Regions from separate parts of the Homo sapiens genome. Here all the other regions are linked to region 1. The links are contacts of gene promoters, found by promoter capture Hi-C in blood cells and fetal thymus (Javierre and others, 2016). All regions are on one chromosome and are shown on one strand. Each heading gives the region's core, a stretch centred on a gene start or on the middle of the fragment in contact. The rest is flanking DNA. Distances are from core to core; before and after follow the strand shown. Region 1 holds the start of RASL11A (RAS like family 11 member A). Region 2 overlaps CDX2 (caudal type homeobox 2). Region 3 overlaps FLT3 (fms related receptor tyrosine kinase 3).

Region 1 (3,592 bases), core at 130-2,629:
TGTTGTTCTAAGCCATCTAGTTTGGTGTGGCTTGTCATGCAGCAAAAACTGGTACAACCAGGGTAGAGAAAGGTATGAATTAGGGTGGGGCTGTCTAATAGGCGATTAGGCAAGTGAGGCTGGAACACAGGAGGTCAGAGGCATGAAGGTCTTCTAACTGTTCAAGGTTAAAGTCCTGAGGCTTCTGCTGTGCTATTTCTGGTGGGCTCCAGAAATCCAAGAACCAGTCTATAGCTCTGTGTCCTGTTCCTCACACTGCCCCCCACCCCACCCTAGACCCCACCATGCACCTAGAAGTAAATATTTGGATACTGAAGCAAATGCATGACTCAAGCACATAGGATAGTATTAATGATGGACACTTAGTGCAGGGCCAGGGCCCCCAGCCAGTGGAGTGCTCATGAGTGTTCAGGAATGAGCCAGTGCAACCCCTGCCTGCAGAGGAGGGGCTGGGCATGGATACTGAGATGCTAACCATCACTGCCCCTAAGGGGACTTCATCTATCCCTAGCAAGGTCACAGTGACTGCAGTTGCCTCCACTGATACTAATTCAGAGCTCTTGCCCCCCGCCCCCCGCCCTTTTCCCATATTAATGTTACCCCTTAGCATCTTTTCTTTTCTTTCTTTTTTTTTTTTTTTTGAGACGGAGTTTCGCTCTTGTGGTCCAGGCTGGAGTGCAGTGGTGCCATCTCGGCTCACTGCAACCTCCGCCTCCCTAGTTCAAGCGATTCTGCTGCCTCAGCCTCCCGAGTAGTTGGGATTACAGGCGCCCACCACCACGCCCCGCTAATTTTTGTATTTTTAGTAGAGACAGCGTTTCGCCATGTTGGCCAGGCTGGTCTTGAACTCCTGACCGCAGATGATCTTGCCCACCTGGGCCTCCCAAAGTGCTGGGATTACAGGCGTAAGCCACCGCGCCCAGCCCCTTAGCACCTTTTAAAAATAAAAAGGGCAGCGTTTTACAGCAATCTGTCCCATTGTTGCAGAAACATCCAACTGATTGCACTTTTTCTTCTTCTCTCGTCAACTCGTAACTCCTATCTCAAGTTCACCCACAGGTCTAGTGACTCCGGCTGGCTGCTGCGGGGCGAGGAGACTCGCAGAATGCCTGACTAGAGGCCACTCGCGCGCTCTGGACGGTGGCCGTATCTCCAGGGTCTGAGCCCCGGAGCCGCAGTCCTGCCGCAGAGCGCCTGGAGCCGCGAGCAGCTAGCAGCCCGGCGAAGCGCACAGCCTCGGCGATAGTCAGCTCCGCGGCCTCTGCTCCCGCCCCTCCCGGCCGCTCCGGGAAGGGGCGGAGACGAGGAGGAGCTGGGACGGCCGCCGCGCTCCCGGGCGCACCAAGCCCTTTAAAAGCCGCGGGCCTTGACAGTTCTGCAGGCAGCCGCCGCGGTCCCGGACCTCTAGTCCCGCACTCCCAGCTGGCGAGCCGGCTCCGGGTGCGGCGAGGCCCAGCCCTCTCGGATTGCGCGCCGGACCCCGGGACGCGCTCCATGCGGCCGCTCAGCATGTCCGGGCACTTTCTGCTCGCACCCATCCCCGAGTCCTCCTCGGACTACCTACTGCCCAAGGACATCAAACTGGCGGTGCTGGGCGCCGGCCGCGTGGGCAAGAGCGGTGAGTGCGGCGGGGACCCCCGGGCGGCTTCGCTCCCCGGCTCCGGCCGCGACCACTGGGGGCGCTGCGGAGAGAGGGCGCCTCGGCCGAAGCAGAGGGCGCGGGTGCAGGTAGAATCGGGCTGCTTTCGCGCTGGGTGGGTCCCGGTCCGTCCCGGCCTGCTTCCCTGGCGTTTCCTGGTGCATCTACTCCTGGGATCTCGGCGGGATTGGCGCCTGTTCGGGGATGGGGTGCGGGAGAGGTGTCCCGCCAGTCGTACTCGCGGCCAAGCCCGCGGCACCACGGCTTTGCGGAGCCTCTGGAAGCGAGCAGTGCCCACGGTTCTGCACCCTTCACTCCCCCCAGTTTGTCCGAGGTGCCTGGGTTTGACAGGCTTGTTCTACTCCTTCGGTTGATTTTCCTATTTCCTTTTCAGCAATGATCGTGCGCTTCCTGACCAAGAGATTCATTGGAGACTATGAACCGAATACAGGTGAGAATACTTTCACGCTCCCTGCTTTTATGCTTGCGTGTTTCTTTTTACGGATGGGAGTTTGAGAATTAAAAAGCAAACTCTACTTCATTCTCCAGGCAAGCTGTATTCACGGCTGGTCTATGTCGAGGGGGACCAGCTCTCCCTGCAGATCCAGGATACTCCCGGGGGCGTCCAGGTAAGAACCGCCAGGGGCAAACAGCTCACCCCCACCCGTGAGACCACCCCAGTGGGCACAGCACGTAGGGCGCCCATGCTGGGCGCAGGGGTCTGAGCAAGGCATCTAAACCGACCTGTGCGTTTAGAGGGAGGAATGGGCTGTCCACAGGTGGGGCCAGTGGTTGGGGTGTTAGAAACTCTCTAAGGGGGAGGCATGGTTAGAAGCAGCCTCCTCTTGTTAAGCACCTGACTTAACTTCACTTTGCAACCCTGGTGGGCCATCACTACTTAAGCAGGTCTCACCATTTCTTCCGGAGGTAGCCATGGAACCATTAACAAAGAAAAAAACGTTTAAAACAAAACAAAACAAAACAAAAAAAGAGGTAGGATTCTGATGGGAGAGACTCTTCTCCCCTGGCAAGCTCTGCTTTTTTTGAGACGGAGTTTCACTCTTGCCCAGGCTGGAGTGCAGTGGCTGGATCTCAGCTCACTGCAACTTCCGCCTCCTAGGTTCCAGCGATTCTCCTCGATTCTCCTGCTTCAGTCTCCCGAGTAGCTGGGACTACAGGCACCCGCCGGAACTCCCAGCTATTTATCTATTTATTTATTTATTAGTAGAGATGGGGTTTCACTATGTTGGCCAGGCTGGTCTCGAACTCCTGACCTCAAGTGATCCGCCCACCTCGGCCTCCCAAAGTGGTGGGATTATAGGCATGAGCCACAGCGCCCGGCCCAAGCACTGCTGAACTGCTGCTGTTAATGGCTGTTCCCTCAAGTCAGTAATTGCAATCAGATAACCCCTTGGCAGAGGGTCTAGAATGTAACTTGTTTATTAACCAGTTACTAATTGCTACTCCGTTCTCCAGAGGAAAGGTCTTGTGGAAGAACCCTAAGAAAGGAATTTCTTTCTGTAACATTCTTAAGAAGTGCATGTTAAAAATGTTTTTATGAGTTTGGGAATAGATATTTATCTTGGCTTATTTTCAAAGTTTTGTTTATTATGAGTTAGTGTTTCCTAAAACTTGAGCCATTCTGGTTTGAGGTCATTCTTCAGTCAGCCATGGTTCACCAGAGACTGCCTGACAAGCAAGGGGTTTAAAAATAATGCAGGGATAACAGCTAATAAAGTAACTCAGGCAGGGAGTTTGCCTGGGAATCTGTTCTTTCCATATCAAAAGCCTGCTTCTGCAGAAGCTGGGTGGAAACTGAAAACTGTATTTAGAGATTTCTTTTTCAAGTGTTTCTTCAAGGGTTGCCTTGATGTTGTTTTGAGTTTATCTCCCACTGAGGGTTTCCTTGACTGGATCTCATTTTGATGTTTTCTCAGATCCAAGACAGCCTCC
Region 2 (3,226 bases), core at 716-3,215, 690 kb after region 1:
TACGTATTTACTGCAAAAGTTTAAAGTCTCAGAACCAAGGAAAACTGAAACTGCAAGGCCCTTTCTACACAGCAAAGGGAGGCCAGTGCTGGGTGGTATACTTCAAATGGCAACCTTTGGCCCCTCAAGGCTAAACTAAAACGTAATTTTCCTCACCTTAGAGCTGAAAATGAGATTTAATTTTGTGGCTTCCTGGCTGTGAAGTTGGCCTGTTTTTCTAGACTATATATATAAAATGTTCATGAACCAAGTCTTGTCCCTCTAGTTTTTGTGAGAGACTGAGTACTTTATTCAGTTTATTTTCTTAGGTACAGTGCTGGAAACAAAGAGAATAGGTCTTTAATATGTCTTTATAGACCCAAATGGAATTCTGGATTAAACTAATACCCTTGGCTGTTTTTCACACTTCTTATATCCCTCAAAAGAGAGAGACAGAAAAAATCAACAACATCAAAAAAAGAGGACTAAAGGTAGAAGGAGGCTTTTTAAAAAAGTACTCCAGGGCCAGGCACAGTGGCTCACACCTGTAATCTCAGCACTTTGGGAGGCCGAGGCGGGTGGATCACCTGAGGCCAGGAGTTCGAGACTAGCCTGACTAACATGGAGAAACCGCATTTCTACTAAAAATACAAAATTAGCCGGGCGTGGTGGCACATGCCTGTAGTCCCAGCTATTTGGGAGGCTGAAGCAGGAGAATCGCTTGAACCCGGGAGGCAGAGGTTGCAGTGAGCTGAGACCGCGCCATTGCACTTCAGCCTGCACAACAAGAGTGAAACTGCGTTTCGACGGTGGCGGGTGGGGGGGCATGTACTCCAGGCCAGGCATGGTGGTTCACACCGGTAATCTCAGCACTTTAGGAGTCCAAGACAGGAGGAGCATTTGGAGTTTGAGACCAACCTGGGTAAGACAGTGAGACCATCTCTGCAAAAAATTTAAACATTAGCCAGTCATGGTGGCTCGAGCCTGTAGTCCAAGCTACTCAGGTGACTGAGGCAGGAGGATCCCTTCAGCTCAGGAAGTCAGGGCTGCAGTGAGCTATGATTGTGCCACTACACTCCAGCCTGGGCCACAAAGCAAGACCCCATCTCTGTTTAAAAAAAAAAAAAAAAAAAAAAAGGACTCCAAAGACGAATGCTTGCATCCTCCTGCTTCAGTCTCTCCACAGATTTAGATGGCCCCTGCAGCCAGATTTTCTAACTCTCATGGTCCTCTGCCAGGCAGTGGCCCGCCCGGAGGGAGCTAGGCGGTCCCCACCTGCCTCTCAGAGAGCCCCAGCGTGGCGGCTAGCTCGGCTTTCCTCCGGATGGTGATGTAGCGACTGTAGTGAAACTCCTTCTCCAGCTCCAGCCGCTGGTGGTCCGTGTACACCACTCGATATTTGTCTTTCGTCCTGGTTTTCACTGTGGAGGAAGGAGAAGTGAGGGCTGAGAACTGCAAGGCAGCCCATCAGTCATGGGTAATGACAAACCTCCCTAACCCAGGGACATTTCTCTTCCTCCACCACCCTGGGGGGCCCGGGTTTGGCTGGTTCCTGCCAAGTCTGACAAGACCCCCCAGAGGGTCCTGTGGGGGGAGGGTATGAGGCTAGTGGAGGCAACTAAACTAACCTTGGTATTAAGTGGTTTTTAAAAATTAAGGAAAGTGAAAACCTCATTCACACAGAAGACAGCAGAATGTAACCACCCTTTCGGTAAACCAAATACAGTACTGGCATATATTTGACACCAAGGGAAAGGGGGCAGGGTGAAGTGGCCGGGATCCTGGAAGCATCCAGATTTCCAGGCCTACCAGAGATGGAAGCCCACCCCGAAAACAGCTGTCATTGTGGGCACATGTTGTAGAGGGGGTGTGGGGGTTACTACTTTGCTTTACTACAAGTGGAAAGCGGGGCTCAGGAGCTGACAAGTCGCCAGAATCATCCCCCAGACACACCAGGCCCATCAGGTGGAATTCTGAGCTGGGCTCTGGCCGAGGGAACAGGCAGAAAACCCCTCCTGCTGGGGACACTTTATACCTGCCCAGACCAGGTTTGGCGTTTGGTACTTTTTCTTTTTTGATCCTCCATTTATTCCTGCTGCAAATCCGGCCAGAGTTATCCTGACCAGTGATCTATGCTCATTGGATTGAGTCAACATATTAAATCCCAGATTGATTGTTTTACTGAAGGGCCTTGACAAATAGTGTCCACAATGTTGGAGCAGGCCCGAGCCTGGCGTCTCCACCAGGTCTGTCTTGGCTCAGCCCTTGGCAGAGCCCTGGCCAGAAGCTGTTCTCTCTGGCTCCGTCCCACTTTTGGGTCTTCTTGCAGCTGAACAGGTTCAATCGCCCAGTGCCCAATCCCACAGAAAGATCTGAAGGGCCTGGGAGTTGCCTGGAGGTGTTTAATGCCCCGCAGGCTGACTTTGTTCAGGTAAAACCCTTTGCAAACCACAACAAAAGCGTCCTGGGAAGATACAGGCCTGATCAGAGGGAGCTCCCCCGAGCCGCTGAAAGGCCAACACAGCCGCAAACAATGCAGGACAAGGCGATCTTATCAAAGAAAAGCCCTTTCAATGCCTTAATAACAACCACATTCTGTTTGAATTACCACTACTGAGCAAATGGCGGCCCCGGCTTTCATCCCCCTCCCCGCCAGGCGCATTAACATAAACACGACCCTGCAGGCGCATTTGAATGGGGCTGCGGCCCCGACCCCGCGCCTGCTATGAAAGTAAAGGGAACTAACGCGACTTTCTCCGCGGTGGACGCTCGGACACGCGTGACCGCCTCAAACCCACTCCAGGCTGCCATTGGTACTCGCCCCTTTTTACAGATGAGGAAATGGAGAATCAGACCGGGTCACGCAGATAGTATCAGGCGGGGTTGGCACCGGAGCCTGGCTGGAGCCACAGAGGACACCTCCGGAGCTGAGGCGCAGGGCAGTTCCCTCAGCCGAACACCCCGGGAGGGAGACTCGCCTGGAAGTGTCTCGGAGCGACCCTTGCTCGGGTGCTGCCCCTTCAGTGTCCCGGACGTGCCGGGCAACGCGATGACCAGACCCTGAGCGCTCTTCGACCCATGCCCCAAGGGCCTTGGAGGCGCCCCACACCCCCTGGGAACCTAGGAGCGGGGCTATGGAGGGGAGGGATGAGAGGGACTTGTCAGAATTCATTATTGACTGCGAAAGTCACCACCCTCTTTCCGGGCCCTAAAAGAGACAATGGCAGGGCTGGGAAGGTGTATATCA
Region 3 (3,598 bases), core at 417-2,916, 780 kb after region 1:
GCTCTGAACATTGGGGGGTTTCAGTAAGAGACAGTAGACAACTCCATGCAAACCCTGCACTGAGATTCTAAAAGTCCCAACAAGGGACTTTTAGTACAAATCCCTTTTAGGTATAAAGAGTAACAATAATCATGAAACAAACACTTAGCGGAATCAAGGTGAAAAGAACTCCTACTCTTCATCTAGAACAGGGCTAGCCAATGAAACAGAATGTGAGTCACAACTTCAAGCCTTGTACATCATTTACAAATTCTGTTGGCTGTATAAAGTAAAAGGAAGCAGGTGAAATTAAGTTTAATAACATATTTCGCTGAATGCGATATATCCAAAATACTATCATTTTAATATATAATCAATGTAAAAATTGTTTTAATTTTATTATTATTTTTTCTTTTTGAGGCAGGTTCTTGCTCTGCATCCAGGCTGGAGTGCGGTGACGTGATCATGGCTACTGCAGCCTCGACCACCTGGGCTCAATCAATCCTCCAACCTCAGCCTCCCAAGTAGCTGGGACTAAAGGTGTACACCACCACACTCAACTCATTTTTGTATTTTCTGTAGAGATGGGATTTTGCCATGTTATCCAGGCTGGTCTCAAACTCCTAGGATCAAGCGATCCACCCGCCTTGGCTTCATAAAGTGCTGGGATGACAGGTGTGACCCACCGAGCCCGGCCAATATAAAAATTATTAATAATATATTTTACATTCTTTTTTTCATACTAAGTCTTCAAAATCTAGTGTGTATTTTACAATTAGAGTACATCTCAATTTGGACCAGACACACTTCAAGCTCTCAATAGCCACATGTGGCTGGTGGCTACCGTACCGGACAGCACAGATCTAGACCTGTGATAGGAATCACCAAAGGTTCTCATTAAAAAAGCAGAGTCTGAGCGTTTTGCCCCAGTTTTGAGTCAGCATGTCTGGAATGGGAGCCAGGAATCCACATTTTAAACATTTGCTCAGATGATTCTTACACAGTTGTTCAACAGACCACATGCTGAGAAAGGATGATTTATTCTAGTCCATTGACTTGTTTGAAAGATAACATGTGCGTCTCAGTGTCTCATAGCCTAGTCCAAAACCATGTTCCATAGCATTAGTTTAAAGAGACAAGAGATGTCATAACTATAGAAGATATAGGGGAAAGTTGTTTTTTGTTTTCCAAAGAAGGAATGGAGAATTCCTCCCACAAGAGAATCTTTCGGCTGGGTGCAGTGGCTCACGCCTGTAATCCCAGCACTTTGGGAGGCCCAGGTAGGGTGAATCTCCTGAGCTCAAGAGTCCGAGACCAGCCTGCGCAACATGGCAAAACCCTGTCTCTACCAAAAATACAAAAAATTAGTCAGGTGTGGTGGTGTGCACCTGTGGTACCAGCTACTTGGGAGGCTGAGGTGGGAGGATCACTTGAGCCTGGGAGGTGGAGGTTGCAGTGAGCCAATATTGCACCACTGCACTATAGCCTAGGTGACAGAGTGAGACCTCATCTCAAAAAAAAAAAAAAAAAGAAAAAGAAAAAGAAAAGAAAATTTGTTGTTCTTAAAAAAAAGAATCTTGCATAGTTTCTCATACAAATCCCGAGGAAAACAACATTTTCCTTCAGCACTTACTATTGGGCTATTTCTGCATGTATTTTTTGAAAATTTAAATCAATACACCTATGAGTAATGTTTTTCTGTTTTTAAGGAGTTTTACTTCCTCAATCATCTGCAAATGTTTTAGGGGAGACTCAGTGTCCTACACACCGCACTCTCAAACAGGAAGTAAAAACTACCTTGTGACTCAGAAAATGCCAGAGAACCAGACTCAAACTAGACCAGACTAATACGGTTCTTTCTGTTTTCATGCAGCAGGTTATATTATCTAAAGTAATGGTAAGACTGCTACTGTATCCTCACATCTGCTTATTGTTTTCTTATCTCCAATTTCAACTCAATAATAGTTAAACTCATAAGTGAATTTGCTTCCATAAGTATAAAACTGTCCTTCTCAAGGGCGACAAGCAAGGAGAATTATGCTAAAAATGGTATCTTAGAGTCCTTTGTGGTCTCACCTGTATCCGTTATCAAGACCCTTTTGCTCACAAGGAAATGATTTTCGAGAGAAGGTCCACGTACATCTGATTTGTGGGTAGGCTTTAAACCTGACAGAAAAACAAAACTCTTCATATTGGTCAATTTCATAATCTTCACTTGAATTGGTAGCATTTATAAATCCCTTTTCTGTAAGAAAAAATAGGCATTTATGAGTTAGTTAATAATATTCATAGGGAAACGTATTGAGAAGATAAAATAAACTTGTATTCATCAGTTTAACACAGGAAAACTCAAGTGTTGGCATGCTGCAGGTCAGGTTGGATAATCCAAGTGAAAACCCAGGAGTCCTATCCCTAGTTCTAAGCCTGAGCTCATCATCTTTCGAAGTTAAGAAATGTTTAAAAAAAGAAAGAAGGAAAGAAAAAGAATGGGATGTAGATAATTGACTGTCTGGCCCCTGCTCTCAGCCAGCACCACTCTTCCATTGATGAGAGAGAGTAAAATAAACTCAAGGCACAAATAAAAGAGCGATCTGGCTAGCAATATTCACGAGGTTGCCTTATGGAACACTTCCTTATTAATCTGCTAAGAGCATCGCTGTATTTCTCGGCATTTTCATTATGGCTGAACGCTGTGCCCTAATCTGAGATTATTGAACTGTGGTTATTTTCAGATCCTACATACCCCACCAAAATTTCAGTGCATCTAAGGGCTTGTACTGTCTCTCAGTGCTCACTGCCCTAACAGTGCGGTTAGTTGGTTCTTAGAACTAGTATTTATTGTCCATTTTGTGTCAGGCTCTGTGTCAGGTTCTGGAACTACAAGGATAGAATGAGTTGTTCTTGTCCTTAAGAAACTTACAGTCTACTGGAGGATAAAAGTACACAAACAGATGGTCATATTACAATGTGTTATATGCAAAGACAGTGGCATTCAAGCGAGCCTGGTTTAACGGGAAAAGGAAGAGGGTGGGCAGATTATCTTTGCAAAGCTATTCTAACTCAGTTTCTTTCTTAGTGTTTGATAGTAGCATTATATTGAAATCAGAATTTGTACCACATACTTCACATTCCACACTACAGCGACTAAAAATAGGAATAAAGATTGTGTGAGCAGCCTGCATTACCTACGATGGTAACCAAAGCTGATTGACTGGGATGCTTTGAAGAGGAACAAGTGTAGTATCCGGTGTCGTTTCTTGCCACTGATGATACAAAAGCAAACAGAATCCGTATCATAGTTCTGTTTGTTGAATAGGTACTCATCTCAAAGTAGTTGCCCTAGGTTTTAATAAAACAGAGTTTGCATTTAATGTTTTCAATCCAGACTATTAGTTAATTGTTCCTGCATTTTCAGAATACAAACTTGTCCTATTACCTCCTCGAGTGCTTTGTTTTCTAATTCCCAGGTGAGCCCGAATCCATGGTTCACATGAACAGCTTTGCACCTTATCCATAAGGGTTCCCCTACTTTAAGAAATAATTGTGGCAATGTGGTCTGAGGAGTTTGATTTAGATCTAGGAGATGAAAACATCCCAAGTGAGAAAAAAAAAGTGATTT

The links. Contacts are between HindIII fragments. The CHiCAGO score rates a contact against its expected background, and 5 or more counts as called.
Region 2: a contact is called between a fragment that was not itself captured here and the fragment with the promoter of RASL11A in region 1, in 3 of 17 cell types (naive CD8 T cells, monocytes and M1 macrophages). The highest score is 5.3, in naive CD8 T cells.
Region 3: a fragment that was not itself captured here is called in contact with the fragment with the promoter of RASL11A in region 1 in 1 of 17 cell types (M2 macrophages); the score reaches 5.3 in M2 macrophages.

Annotation. Positions count from the first base shown.
Region 1 is chr13:27,269,451-27,273,042 of GRCh38, forward strand. RASL11A (RAS like family 11 member A) reads left to right here and starts at 1,380. Exons shown (of 4, transcript NM_206827.2): 1 at 1,380-1,618; 2 at 2,034-2,090; 3 at 2,189-2,268; 4 at 3,577-3,592. The coding sequence starts at 1,495. RefSeq lists an enhancer at 842-1,342 and silencers at 1,291-1,510, 1,551-1,780. The HindIII fragment of the contact is 11,897 bases long and covers 1-3,592 here.
Region 2 is chr13:27,963,616-27,966,841 of GRCh38, forward strand. CDX2 (caudal type homeobox 2) reads right to left here. Exons shown (of 3, transcript NM_001265.6): 2 at 1,255-1,400. Among named protein-coding and RNA genes, the nearest start is that of CDX2, 4.1 kb to the right of the region's middle. RefSeq lists enhancers at 2,167-2,858, 2,859-3,226. The HindIII fragment of the contact is 4,180 bases long and covers 1-3,226 here.
Region 3 is chr13:28,046,220-28,049,817 of GRCh38, forward strand. It overlaps FLT3 (fms related receptor tyrosine kinase 3), which reads right to left. Exons shown (of 24, transcript NM_004119.3): 7 at 3,416-3,555; 8 at 3,165-3,318; 9 at 2,056-2,224. Among named protein-coding and RNA genes, the nearest start is that of FLT3, 53 kb to the right of the region's middle. The HindIII fragment of the contact is 4,034 bases long and covers 1-3,598 here.